3 separate regions of the Homo sapiens genome follow, and all the other regions are linked to region 1. The links are contacts of gene promoters, found by promoter capture Hi-C in human tissues and cell types (Jung and others, 2019). All regions are on one chromosome and are shown on one strand. The core of a region is centred on a gene start or on the middle of the fragment in contact, and the rest is flanking DNA. Distances in the headings are between cores, read along the strand shown. Region 1 holds the start of CDO1 (cysteine dioxygenase type 1). Region 2 overlaps LVRN (laeverin). Region 3 has its middle 28 kb from the start of FEM1C.

Region 1 (4,016 bases), core at 974-3,473:
TAGAGCTATAACACTCACCGCATGGTCCAAGGTTCCATTCCTTGGAATCCATGAGGCCAAGAACCCCAGTTCAGAGAACAAAAGGCTTGCTGCCATCCTGGGAGCGGTGGCCACCATCTTGGGAGCTCTAAGAACAAAGACCTGCCCATAAGAATTAGAGATATAGAAAATGAAGAACACAATGCAATATCAGCACACCTCTATTTGGCCAAAATTGGTAAAACTGACAATACCTGGCGAGGATGCGGGGCAACTAGAACTCATACATCACTGTTGAGAATGTGAAATGGCACAGACCCTTTGCAAATTAGTATGTCAATTTCTTGCAAATTTAAACATGCACTGACTAAATGGCCCAGCAATCTCACTCCTAGGTATTTACTCAGGTGAAATGAAAATTTCTATTCACCCGAAAAAACATTTGTTGAATAAATTAATGAATGAATAATAAACGAATGGAGCTATCATAATGTAAAATGACTAGATAATATCTAAAATTGCTGAAACAAAAAAAAATATAAGCCTATTTTTGGAAAAAGGAAGTAACTACCACAAGGAATAGTTAGAAGAGTTAAGAGACTGACTCTTTAAGCACAGGACAGATGGTCAGGAATGGTTAAAAGGGCCTGCTGCTTTTCATTGACCTTCCAGTACTATTGATTTTTTTTAACTACGTGAATATATTACTTTCATAAAAATGTAAAAAGAAAAAGAGGAGTCAGAGAAAGAAAATGAATTGTCAGAAAAATTTAGAAGTTTTATCAACTGAAATGCAGAAAAGATAAATTGTGCTTGCATTTCATTTTTGTTGTTCATTCCAAACATTTATGGATTAGACTAGCTGAAATGAAGTAATTAAGAGACTCAATAGAAAACATTGCCAAGAATAAAAAATAATTTGAGGAAACCATGAAAAGTTTACAGGTTACTCTGTCACAAAATACTTTGTTAATTCACTACCCCGCAGCAACACACATCACCAAGGCTGGCTTCTGGAATGCTTTCTACTTGTAGCCATTTTTGAACAATAGGTGATTCCGCTTTTAACAACACTGTTAGAATATAATGTAGCGAGTTTTACCAGAGATGTTTAAGACTACCTGGCACAAGTAAATTTCATTGTATACATGTATATACACGAGGGAGGGTGATCATAGTCTAGAAAAAAACAGGTCTTCAGAAGTCTAGAACTTTAATAACCTTAAATCCAAATTATTCCCTGCGTCCATCCATAATGAGAAGGAAGAAATCTACACTTGCATTTCTTCCACCTTTCACATCTTTCTCATTTAAATCCTACTGTACTTGATTTGTGTTGTTCCCAACGTACTAGGTGCTATGCATGACGTAGAAACGTGTTTCCTTATATGTATGTACTAGCAGGCTCCTTCAAGCACATGCCTAAGGTTGAAAGATTCAAATATAATTATAGCCTCTTAAATTATTGCGTCAGAGCCCGCCCTATCCCCTCAGAAAAAGCCCCCTTTTACACCATCAAATGAAATATCAGGTTATTTGCACTGGATATTTTTTAAAAGAAAATATTTGATTTTAAAATCAAAGAGTTCTTGGTTTTCCATCATTTCACTAATTGTCTTACTAGAGACCCGAGTCTCCTTTGTCAAAATATATTTCAGTACGCATTTTAAAAAATATGTGTGTGTGTATACTTAAATATATATATATATAAAGTCTTGGACTTATTTTCACCTAGCCTGGGGCATATCGTGGATAGTTTCAATCGACAAAACAGGCACTCTCTGGCCTAGGAGTGGAATCCATCCTCAATTTTCGCAGGCTCCTCACAATTCTCTATTTGGAAGAAGTGTCCCTCTCCTTCCCTTTTCTTTTCCTCCTTTACTCAGCGTCAGTCCCCGCAGCCATCTCCTCCGACCCTTTTTGTCTACGTCCCAGCGTCGCGAACCACAGCGGCGGAGGTGGAGCGGGGAGAGGCGTTAGGCCGGGCGGCTAAAACGCGCCGTTAAAGTGGGGGAGAGATTGCGCGGAGCCCACGCGATCCCTGGGACGCCGGAGACAACGGGGCTCTTGGGAAGGCGCGGAGCCCGGGGAAGCCGGGGATGTGCGCGTGAGCCGTGCCCGCAGGGTCTCCCCGCCTCCGCCACCTTTCTTGGGTGGCTCTCCGCCTCGTCCTCCCTCCGAGGGCCGTTGGTACATTCCTAGTGACTCCAAGCGCTTAAAAGGGGCCCGGGAGGATGAACCCCACAGATCTGAACCTGATTTGTGTGTGCACCGCGTCTCCAGCGATCCCGGATCCACTGCGCTGCCAGGGGCCTGGGGGTGGGTCTCTTGCTGTCTCTGCGACGACATCCTTACGTTTCGGCACTCTAATGCTGGGTTTGTGCGTGTGTGTCTGCTTAGCGGTCTAGCGGGCTGTTAGGCTCCCTCGCCCCCAGCTCCTTGGCTCGCTCAGCTCCTCCACCGCAGCCCAGCAGTGAGACGCGCGCGCAGCCAGCTCCCCACGAGATGGAACAGACCGAAGTGCTGAAGCCACGGACCCTGGCTGATCTGATCCGCATCCTGCACCAGCTCTTTGCCGGCGATGAGGTCAATGTAGAGGAGGTGCAGGCCATCATGGAAGCCTACGAGAGCGACCCCACCGAGTGGGCAATGTACGCCAAGTTCGACCAGTACAGGTGAGCGCGCTGCAGCTTCAATGCCAGGCGGCGCCCACTCGCCCCGTCTGAGGAGGAATGGACGTGGGGGACGCAGCCCAAAGTGACTGGCTCGGGAAGCTCGGGCCGCGCTGCGTCCGCCGCTCGCCCCCTCGCTGGCCAGCCGCGGGGCTGGCACGACTCGCTTGGGGCTCCGCGGCCACAGCGCAGGCGGAAGGTGGATCCTACTGGCCTTGCTGACCTCCGGCCGGGAACGGCGGACAGGCGCCGGGAAGGGAGGCCACCGCGCGTCTGCGAGATTTTCTGTTCTCTTCTCTCCCGCAAACCCCTCTGCTTCTAAACCACCAGTCCTCCTGCCCCTGGCCTCGGGAGCAATGCCCACACTCCCAAGCCATCGTTAACCCCGGGCGCGGAGATGCGGAGAGACCGCACTCAGGTTCGGGCCCTCCTGACACCTTAAGGAACCGTCTGGCCGGACTAGCAGAGGGTGCTCCCAGGGGAGCACTACATCAGCCATCGGGAGAAGTGTGTGATGTTGAAGAAGACAAGTCACCCGCGTCAGTTCTCCATCACTGCGCCTTCGGTCGCCTGCAACCGGGCACCTTATAGCAAGCATTTTTACTCATGTAAAATAGCGTCTTGTGGCCGTCAGCTGCCACTACGGAATTTCTGCTGTTCCCTTTCCCAAACCAATTTAACTAACTTCCCCGACTGTGGGTTTATTCAAATCCACTGCCAAGTTTCGCAGATTAAATATTCGACCGTCGTTTTTTTCAGCCCCCAAATGATCTGATTTATCTTATCCTTGCTTCTGACGATCTGTAATGTAAATTAAAGACCCCTACTTCCCAGATGTACTTGAGTGAGGTGCCCTGGTAAGCTGGCTTTTTTGCAGCCCCGGCTTGGTGATTAAGTCGAATCTCTCTACCAATCCTCCGGGGCCAGAGGTAAAATTTAATCACCCCGAAGTGTGAGAGGTTCTACTTTTTCTGAGCAGTTAGTGCGTCAGTCTTTGTGGTTTTTTGGGTTTAGGGTTAGGAGAAAGGGGTAAGTGAAAGAAAAGAATAAGGAAAGAAGTAAGTTTGTTTTTCTTGGGAGCAGGTTCTTTTAGTCACTCTTCAACATGTGGGATGTTTCGTAAAGTTTTGTTGGCATGGGCGGTTTCAACTGTATTTTAGGATTTGAAATAGAAAAAGTGAAGACCACTAAGGATCCCATTTTTCATATACAAGTGACTTGAGGAAATTCCTTTGGCTCCTATCAGCTTAGTTCATGGTAGAGCCCTTCTGTAGCCGTGAAAGCTAGCAGAGAGTCTAGCTTTTAAATTTTCTTGCATTTGCTCCAGGTAATTGAAGACTTGTTATGGGACAGGTACTCTTCCAG
Region 2 (3,965 bases), core at 464-2,963, 150 kb before region 1:
TTTGTATGCTAAAAATGATAAAATTCTGATGAAATCAAAGATCTAAATAAATGGACATTTAATGCTCATAGAATGGAATATTAAGGATAGCAAAGCTAGCAATTCTCCCTAAATTTACATAAAGGTTTAACATAGGTCCTATCAAAATCCTAATAAGATTTTTAGTAGCTATATATAAGAATATCATAAAATATATAAAGAAAGGCAAAGGAACTAAAATAGTTAAAACAATTCTAAAAAAAGACAATTTCAAGACTTATTGTATAGCTGCAGTAAGCAAGACTATGTAGTACTGGCACAGGAATCAACACCTATGTTGATGGAACAGAATAGAGAATCCAGTAATAGTGGGGCCAACTGATTTTTGACAAAGGTGCAAAAGCAATTCAATAGTGGGAGGATACTCTTTTCAACAAATGATGCTGGAAAAAATGGATATCCATAGGCAAAAGAATTAACCTCAACCTAAACATAACATCTTAAAAAATCATCTCAAAGTGGATTATAGATTTAAATGTAAAACACTTTCGGAAGACAACATAGAAAATCTGCAGAACCTAGGGCTTGGTGAAGAGTTCTCAGGCATGACACCAACAGCATGATCCATTAAAAAATAGACAAATTGGACTTCATCAAAATTAAAGTAAAACTTTTATTTAAAACTTTTATTCTCTGAAAGACCTTACTAAGATGATGAAAAGACAAGCTATAGGCTGGGAGAACATATTTGCAAACCATATATATCTCACAAAAGACTTAGATCTAGAATATATAAAGAACTTCCAGAATTCAACAGTAAAAAATAAAATCTATTAGAAAATAAGAAAAGACGTGAAGAGACATTTCACTGACTGATATACAGATGGCAAATAAGCACACAAAAAAATGTTTAACATCATTAGTCATTGGAGACATGCAAATTAAAACCACAATGAGATATTACCATACACCTATCAGGACAGCTAAAATATAGTGACAATACCAAATGATGGCCATGATACAGAGAACATCTATCACTCATATATTGCTGGTAGGAGTATAAAATGGTATAGCCACTTTGAAAAACAATTTGGCAATTTCTTAAGGACTAAACATGCAACTACCATATGACGCAGCAATGACACTTGTGAACATTTGTCCCAGTGAAATAAATACTGTGTTCACACAAAAACCTGTACAAGTGCTTTGGGAGGCAAAGGTAGGAGGATCCCTTGGGGCCAGAAGTATGAGGCTAGCCTGGGCAACATAGAGGGACCCCGCCTCTTAAAGAGAAAAACTTGTACACAATTATTCATAGAAGATTTATTTGTAAAACCAAAAACTGGAAACAACTAAAATAACCCTCAATCGATGAATGACTAAATAAACTTTCATACATCCATACCATGGAATAGTACTTAGCAATAAAAAGACTCAAACTATTGATGCATACTTGGATGGATCGCAAGGGCATTATGCTGAGTCAGAAAGGTCTAAAGGATATAATTCCATTTATAGAACATTCTCAAAATGACAAAATTACAAAGATGGAACGGATTAGTGGTTGTCAGGGGTTAGAGATGATTAGGAGTGGTATGAGTGCATAAAAAGGAGAAGTATGGGAATGATCTTTAAGGTGGAACAGTTCTGTATCTTTATTGTGGTAGTTTTTGCGCAAATGTACGCATATGATAAATGACACAAAGACATATATATGCATAGTACCAATGTCAAATTCTTGATTTTGATATTGTACTATAATTATGTAAGATAAACTAGATGAAGGGTACCTAGGACCTCTCTATATTATCTTTGCAACTTCTGGTGAATCTATAATTATTTCAAAATAAAAAGTTAGAAAAAAGTATGAGATACCATATTAGTCCGTACTCATGCTGCTATGAAGAAATACCCAAGACTGGGTAATTTATAAAGAAAAGGAGTTTAATTGACTCACAGTTCTGCATGGCTGGGAAGGCCTCAGGAAACTTATAGTCATGGCAGGAGATGAAGGGGAAGAAAGGGGAAGAAAGGTACTTTCTTCACAGGGCAGCAAGACAGAGTGAATGCAAGCAGGGGAAATGCCAGAGGCTCATAAAACCATCAGATCTCATGAGATTCACTCACTATCAGGAGAACAGCATGGGGGAAACCACCCCCATGTTCCAATTACCTCCCACTGGGTTATGGGAACTACAATTCAAGATGAGATTTGCGTGGGGACACAACAAAACCATATGAGGTGCCAATAGTAGGCATCAGAATTATCTGAGACAATCGTCAAAACGTATAAATTTCTAAACTCCATTCTAAACTCCCTGATCTATAATTTATTTTTGCTCATTAAAAATTTTTAATTCTAGTAAAATACACATAACATAAAGTTTACCACTTTAACCATTTTTAAGTGTATAATAGTTCAGTAGTGTTAAGAACATTCACATTGTTGTCAACCTATCTCCAGAACTCTTATCACCTTACAAAACTAAAATCTATACCCATTAAGCAATAACTCCCCACTCCCCAGCTTCTGCCTTCTTCTCCTCTGGGAATCTTCTTAGACTCATATATACCAGGAACTTGGCAGGTTCTGCGTTTAGATAACAAGGAAGCTGATCATAATGATAATCCAACCTAAGGATAGCAGTTACCACTATCCAGGCTGTATGTGTCACTGTGTACTCCCTTTTTCATTTAATTCTCACAGTACTCTAATAGTTGACAGTTATTATATCTATTCCGTGAATGAGGAAACAGACTCAGAGAGGTTAAGAGACTAGCTCAATTCACACAGCTCAGGTTCAAACTCAGGCCTGCTGGGCTCCCAGAATCTGGCGTACCACAAGCCATCCTTCTGTTGCAGGTTCTTCATGACCCTGGCTTCAAGCTTAACCTTAGGTGTCTTTTCCTTGTGGTTTCAGAAGCAGAGACCCAAAGGGTAACAACTCTTCCAAAACATCACAATTTTGGAGCTCTACCTTGGTTTATGAACATCTGTAGAACTTTATTAAGATTTCTTCTTGCTTGAATTTTAATGTTCTGAAAATATGGTTTCTAGTTAACACTAGAGTTAGCAACACAATAGAAAAATTGAACGGGACTTCCCTTTCCCACATTTGCAAGCTTGACTGGGCCACAGCCCCACTGAAACAGGACCAAGGAAGAGGTAGGTGAACAGAGGAGGATTTACTGACCTACAGCAAGAAAAAAAAAAAAGTCAGATATGTAGGTGAAGTGTTTCTATTTTTTCCTCTGAAATATTTTGCACCCTGACCTACACAGTAATTTCAAAAGATTTCTTCACAAGTTGAGTAACACATCATCTAAATAAGAAAATTTCAAAACTATTTTTTCAAGCATTGATGTATTTTTTAAAGAAAAACCAAGCACGCTGCCCTTAAAAACAAAAGTTACAGATTATACATCCACTAGAGCAACTCTTTAAACTTATTTAGAAACCTTTGAAATTTTGAAAGTAGTGCAGGAGATGGTGCAGGGTGTAATTTAGTGGGATTCTTTCCCTCAGAGAACATCTGAGAACATTTTCTCTAATAATAAAGGGCAAAGTACATGCAGTTGTGTACGGCGCAAATGCTCCACCAGTGTGTGAGTGGACAAAGAGATCGCCGGTTGGAAAAAAAATAAATTTTGATATCTCCCACTTAAGCTATTTCCCTGGAGTTCGCCGGAGGACAGTATTGTGGTCTCAGAGCGTGGAAAGAGACAATTCTTGTGCAGGGGCAGGAAACATTCCGTGTAGGAGATATTATCTCAAATGAGTGTAAAAAGAACACATGTCTGCATTTCTAACAAGCGCCCAGGTTACAGCTGCTGCTGGCCCAAGGACCAACCTTTGAGGGGCAAGCGGTTTGTTGAATGGGGTGAAGAAATTTCCGGCTAGAGAGGAAAGGTGCTTTCTGAAGAGAACGATAAGCTTCAGGGGTACCAGCGACCTAAAAAGGGGCAGCAATAGAAACAAACGGGAT
Region 3 (3,695 bases), core at 226-2,725, 240 kb after region 1:
ATTAACATATTAAGTTTGGATTGAGGTAAGTAATACTTGAAAGTGCCATTAATTAATAACTCAGAGCATGAAAATTATTTGATTAAAAGCTCAATGAGGCTGGGTGTGGTGGCTCATGCCTGTAATCCCAGCACTTTGGGAGGCCAAGGTGGGTGGATCACGAGGTCAGTAGTTCAAGACCAGCCTGGCCAAGACGGTGAAACCCCATCTCTACTGAAAATACAAAAATTAGTCAGGCGTGGTGGCAGGTGCTTGTAATCCCAGCTACTCAGGAGACTGAGGCAGGAGAATTGCTTGAACCTGGGCAGCAGGGGTCGCAGTGAGCCTAGATCTGGCCACTGCACTCCAGCCTAGGCGATACAGTGAGACTCTGTCTCAAAAAAAAAAAAAAAAAAAAGCTCAACGAATTAACTTGTGGAAAAAAAGAAAGACAATTGCTCTTCTCTCTTCTCCTTTGCCAATGAACCTGCTCTCACAACTGTTTACTCCAACATCTATACTCCTTCACAGTTGCCTTCCTTTCTGTCATGAGCAAGAATTGTTCTGGGGAAATCACTTCTTTAGTTAGTTTAACACACTTCTATTTCTCTTCAGATAGAGTGAGTTCTGAGTCATTTTCACTCTGAGGTGAATAATTAGAAATGCTTTTATTAGCAAGTAACAGGAACCTGCATTTAAGCAGTTTCCAAATCTAATTAGAAATGTTGCTTTCAGCTACCTACTCAAACTACAGGTTTAAATCAAGAAAATTGTTTTTTTCTATTATTTGTAGGGGACCTCTACAAACTAGCTCCTTCCGGAGGTTTTCCATGTATATATTGGACAGGACACATAACAAGCTTTACAGATTTCTGTATATTTTATGTGTATTTATAAATAATGCTATCACATTAAAATGTTCTAAAATTAGATTGCAGTGCTGGTTGCACAACTCTGCACATATACTAAAAACTGTTGAGTTGTATACTTGAAATGGGTAAATTTTATGGTATGTAAAATATATCTCAATAAAGAACCTAAAAAATACTCTCGAGCAAAGATGACAATAAAATGCTACAGTGATTTGGAAACATGATTTAGCAATGACTAGTAATGTTGAAGATGGGCATATCTTATGAATCTAGCAATTCTACCTCTGGATTTGTATCCCAAAGAAACTCTCTCACAGGTACCCAAAGAAGCACGAGTGAGAAGGATGCCTATGCAGCATTCTTTGTAATAGGTAAATAATGGGAAACAATCTAAATGTCCATCAGTAGGAGGATGCAGGAATACATTATGGCAGGTTCATGAAATCAATACTATAGGGCATTAAAAATAACTAGGAAACCTACATATGTGAATATGGGTAAATTTCTAAAATGTAATATGTGGGAGAAGTAAATTATAGAATAATATGGATAATTTGATAACATTTATATAAAGTTTTAAAACGTACAAGACAGCTCTGTATTTTTAATGGGTACTTACATTGGTGATGGTATATTATTTTCCATGCTCTCCTGTATGTTTGAAAAAGTTCATAATTATTTTTTAAATTAGCATTCACTTGTAGTCATGTTAAGTGCTGTAGATGTTTCCTACACGTGCAATGATTTGAGGAACTAAAAAAAGATGAAGACTGTCAATGGGTAGAGAAATATATGCTTGTAATAATACGTTTCATTTTTTATCACCTACTGTGTTTGGCACTTAACTTACATTATCTCCAGTGTTCCCCAGATTCCTACAAGGTTAGTCATACAGTGTCCAATACTGGGCCAAGAAACAGATGCTGGAAATGTAATATACCCAAGATCACAGGCTGGTAGAGGATGGAGTCATTGAAATATTCAGTGGTCTGGCTCCAAAGCCTTGTGGGTCTTAGGCTTCATAATTGTGCTTCTCAATGTACCTGTCTGCTTTTCTCATGGTGGAGAAATTAGGAGAGGCCAGTAGTACAAAGAGAAAACCATAACAAGTTCATGGTGAGGTTGCCATAATTCTAGTCTTCTTTGCCTAGTATGCACAACTCATGACAGAGAGTCTCAGGAACTATGCGTCCTAATTCCACTGTGCTGCTGTGGAGCTAACTTTTCTAATCTTCACTTTCCTCCAGAAGACTCAAAGTATTGCAGTAGCTGATTTCTAACATTTTCTAGCTGTGTGATTTTTTTCTGAGCTCTAAAAACTAAGGTCTCTGCCCATTCTAAAATGCTTCCCTTCTTTTGTTGTACTTTCTTCACTTCAGCTTTTGAACAAGCATCACTAAGCACTATTTTGTCACAAACTCCATGACCTTTGGAAATGGAAATGATGCTCTCTTAGTAAGCCCTGTCTGTGTCTAGGGAGAGAGGAGGATGTCAGTGTCTTTTAGCTCTGAACAAGAAGTCCACTATGTCTGGCATGATAATTTAAAGGGTCGCCAAATACTCTTGTTTTGTTTTGCTTTATGTAGTTTATTTGCTCATACTAGATGACACATATGTTAAATGAAACACTGCTTTGATTTAGAGGGAGGAGGAAAAATGGGGTACATAATAAGTGGGACTAGTGTTTATTTCAGGAAAAATGTGTTGCTTAGCTCCTGTATGCATATAATCATGTGCATCTTTTCTGTGTTTCAGAACAAAGATGTTGTTCAGCAATATAGGAAACATTAACAAAGGGAAACGAATGCAGACATTTACATACACTGTGATTTGTGAGTTTCAGGGTGGGATAGATCTAGCAAAAATTATGTTTAATGCTTAGATTTTATGTAAAACTACTGTGATATTGAATGCCGTATGTTTTGATTAGAGTACAGCCTGTGCAGCCCCATTATTTGGGTTCAATTTTAGTTGTACATTTATTTGTTGGGTAACTTTGGTCAAATTTAGTTAACCTTTCTATACTTTCAATTTGTAAAGTAGAAATCATAGGAATGACTACCTCAGAGGTGTTCTGGAAAGTAAGTGATTTAATAGAGATACAGTACTTAGGACAGGGGGAGTAAGGCATTCTTAGAAGTCGCTTTCATCCTGACCTTGCCTATTATTCAAGGCTGACTGCTAAGAGACTAGTTAAGCAATTAGATCCAGATCTTGATAGTTGCCCTATTTTTCCCCTTCAAGGCCATATGTGTTACTTTCCTCTAATACATTTGCCTAAAGCCAAAGAACAATCCATCTACCACTTAAGAATACATTTATTGCTTTTAACTTAAAAAAAAATTAAAGAAAAGATCTCTGTAAGGATGAGCTCCATCTTATGGTAGGCTTCATCTATACTGCCTCCTTCTTGTCGTAGTGGCTGCTGCAGTCAGGCATCCAGTCACTGGTGCACAGCTGAGAGAAAACTCAGGGCTGGTGTTCTGAAGCGGGTGACATAAGGATCTCTAATCACTGACCCAGCGACTCCAATACTGTCTTTGTTTCCCTGAGTTTTATATTTGCCCAGAACTGGAAAGCTCCCAGCCATTCATTCACTGGTCAGTTCTGTGTGTGTGCTATAGTAGCTACTCTGTTGCCAGCAACAAGAAGAAGGAGGTGAGGAGAGCTCTAGGCCTGATTTTCACCGCCAAAGAAATTCTGGCACTGGTTAGTGCTCTGCTGCGTGGTTGGCATGGAGACTAGAGAATTCAGGCTACCTAACAATTGAGGACTTAGGGGAACAATAGGTCCTGGTTATTTTCTTAGCCTTTTGCTGAGATATTTCCTTTATTCTTCTTTGGA

What was found. Contacts are between HindIII fragments. The study calls those that stand out against the background at their distance.
Region 2: a fragment that was not itself captured here is called in contact with the fragment with the promoter of CDO1 in region 1 in 1 of the 25 tissues and cell types used here (mesenchymal stem cells).
Region 3: a contact is called between a fragment that was not itself captured here and the fragment with the promoter of CDO1 in region 1, in 3 of the 25 tissues and cell types used here (dorsolateral prefrontal cortex, hippocampus and liver).

What each region holds. Positions count from the first base shown.
Region 1 is chr5:115,814,866-115,818,881 of GRCh38, reverse strand. CDO1 (cysteine dioxygenase type 1) reads left to right here and starts at 2,223. Exons shown (of 5, transcript NM_001801.3): 1 at 2,223-2,654. The coding sequence starts at 2,485. It overlaps LOC124901049 (a long non-coding RNA gene), which reads right to left and starts at 1,794. Exons shown (of 2, transcript XR_007058908.1): 1 at 1,711-1,794. The HindIII fragment of the contact is 9,051 bases long and covers 1-4,016 here.
Region 2 is chr5:115,963,830-115,967,794 of GRCh38, reverse strand. All of the region lies in intron 1 of LVRN (laeverin), which reads right to left. Among named protein-coding and RNA genes, the nearest start is that of LVRN, 3.3 kb to the right of the region's middle. The HindIII fragment of the contact is 3,590 bases long and covers 1-3,508 here.
Region 3 is chr5:115,571,364-115,575,058 of GRCh38, reverse strand. No RefSeq gene overlaps it. Among named protein-coding and RNA genes, the nearest start is that of FEM1C, 28 kb to the right of the region's middle. The HindIII fragment of the contact is 6,791 bases long and covers 1-3,695 here.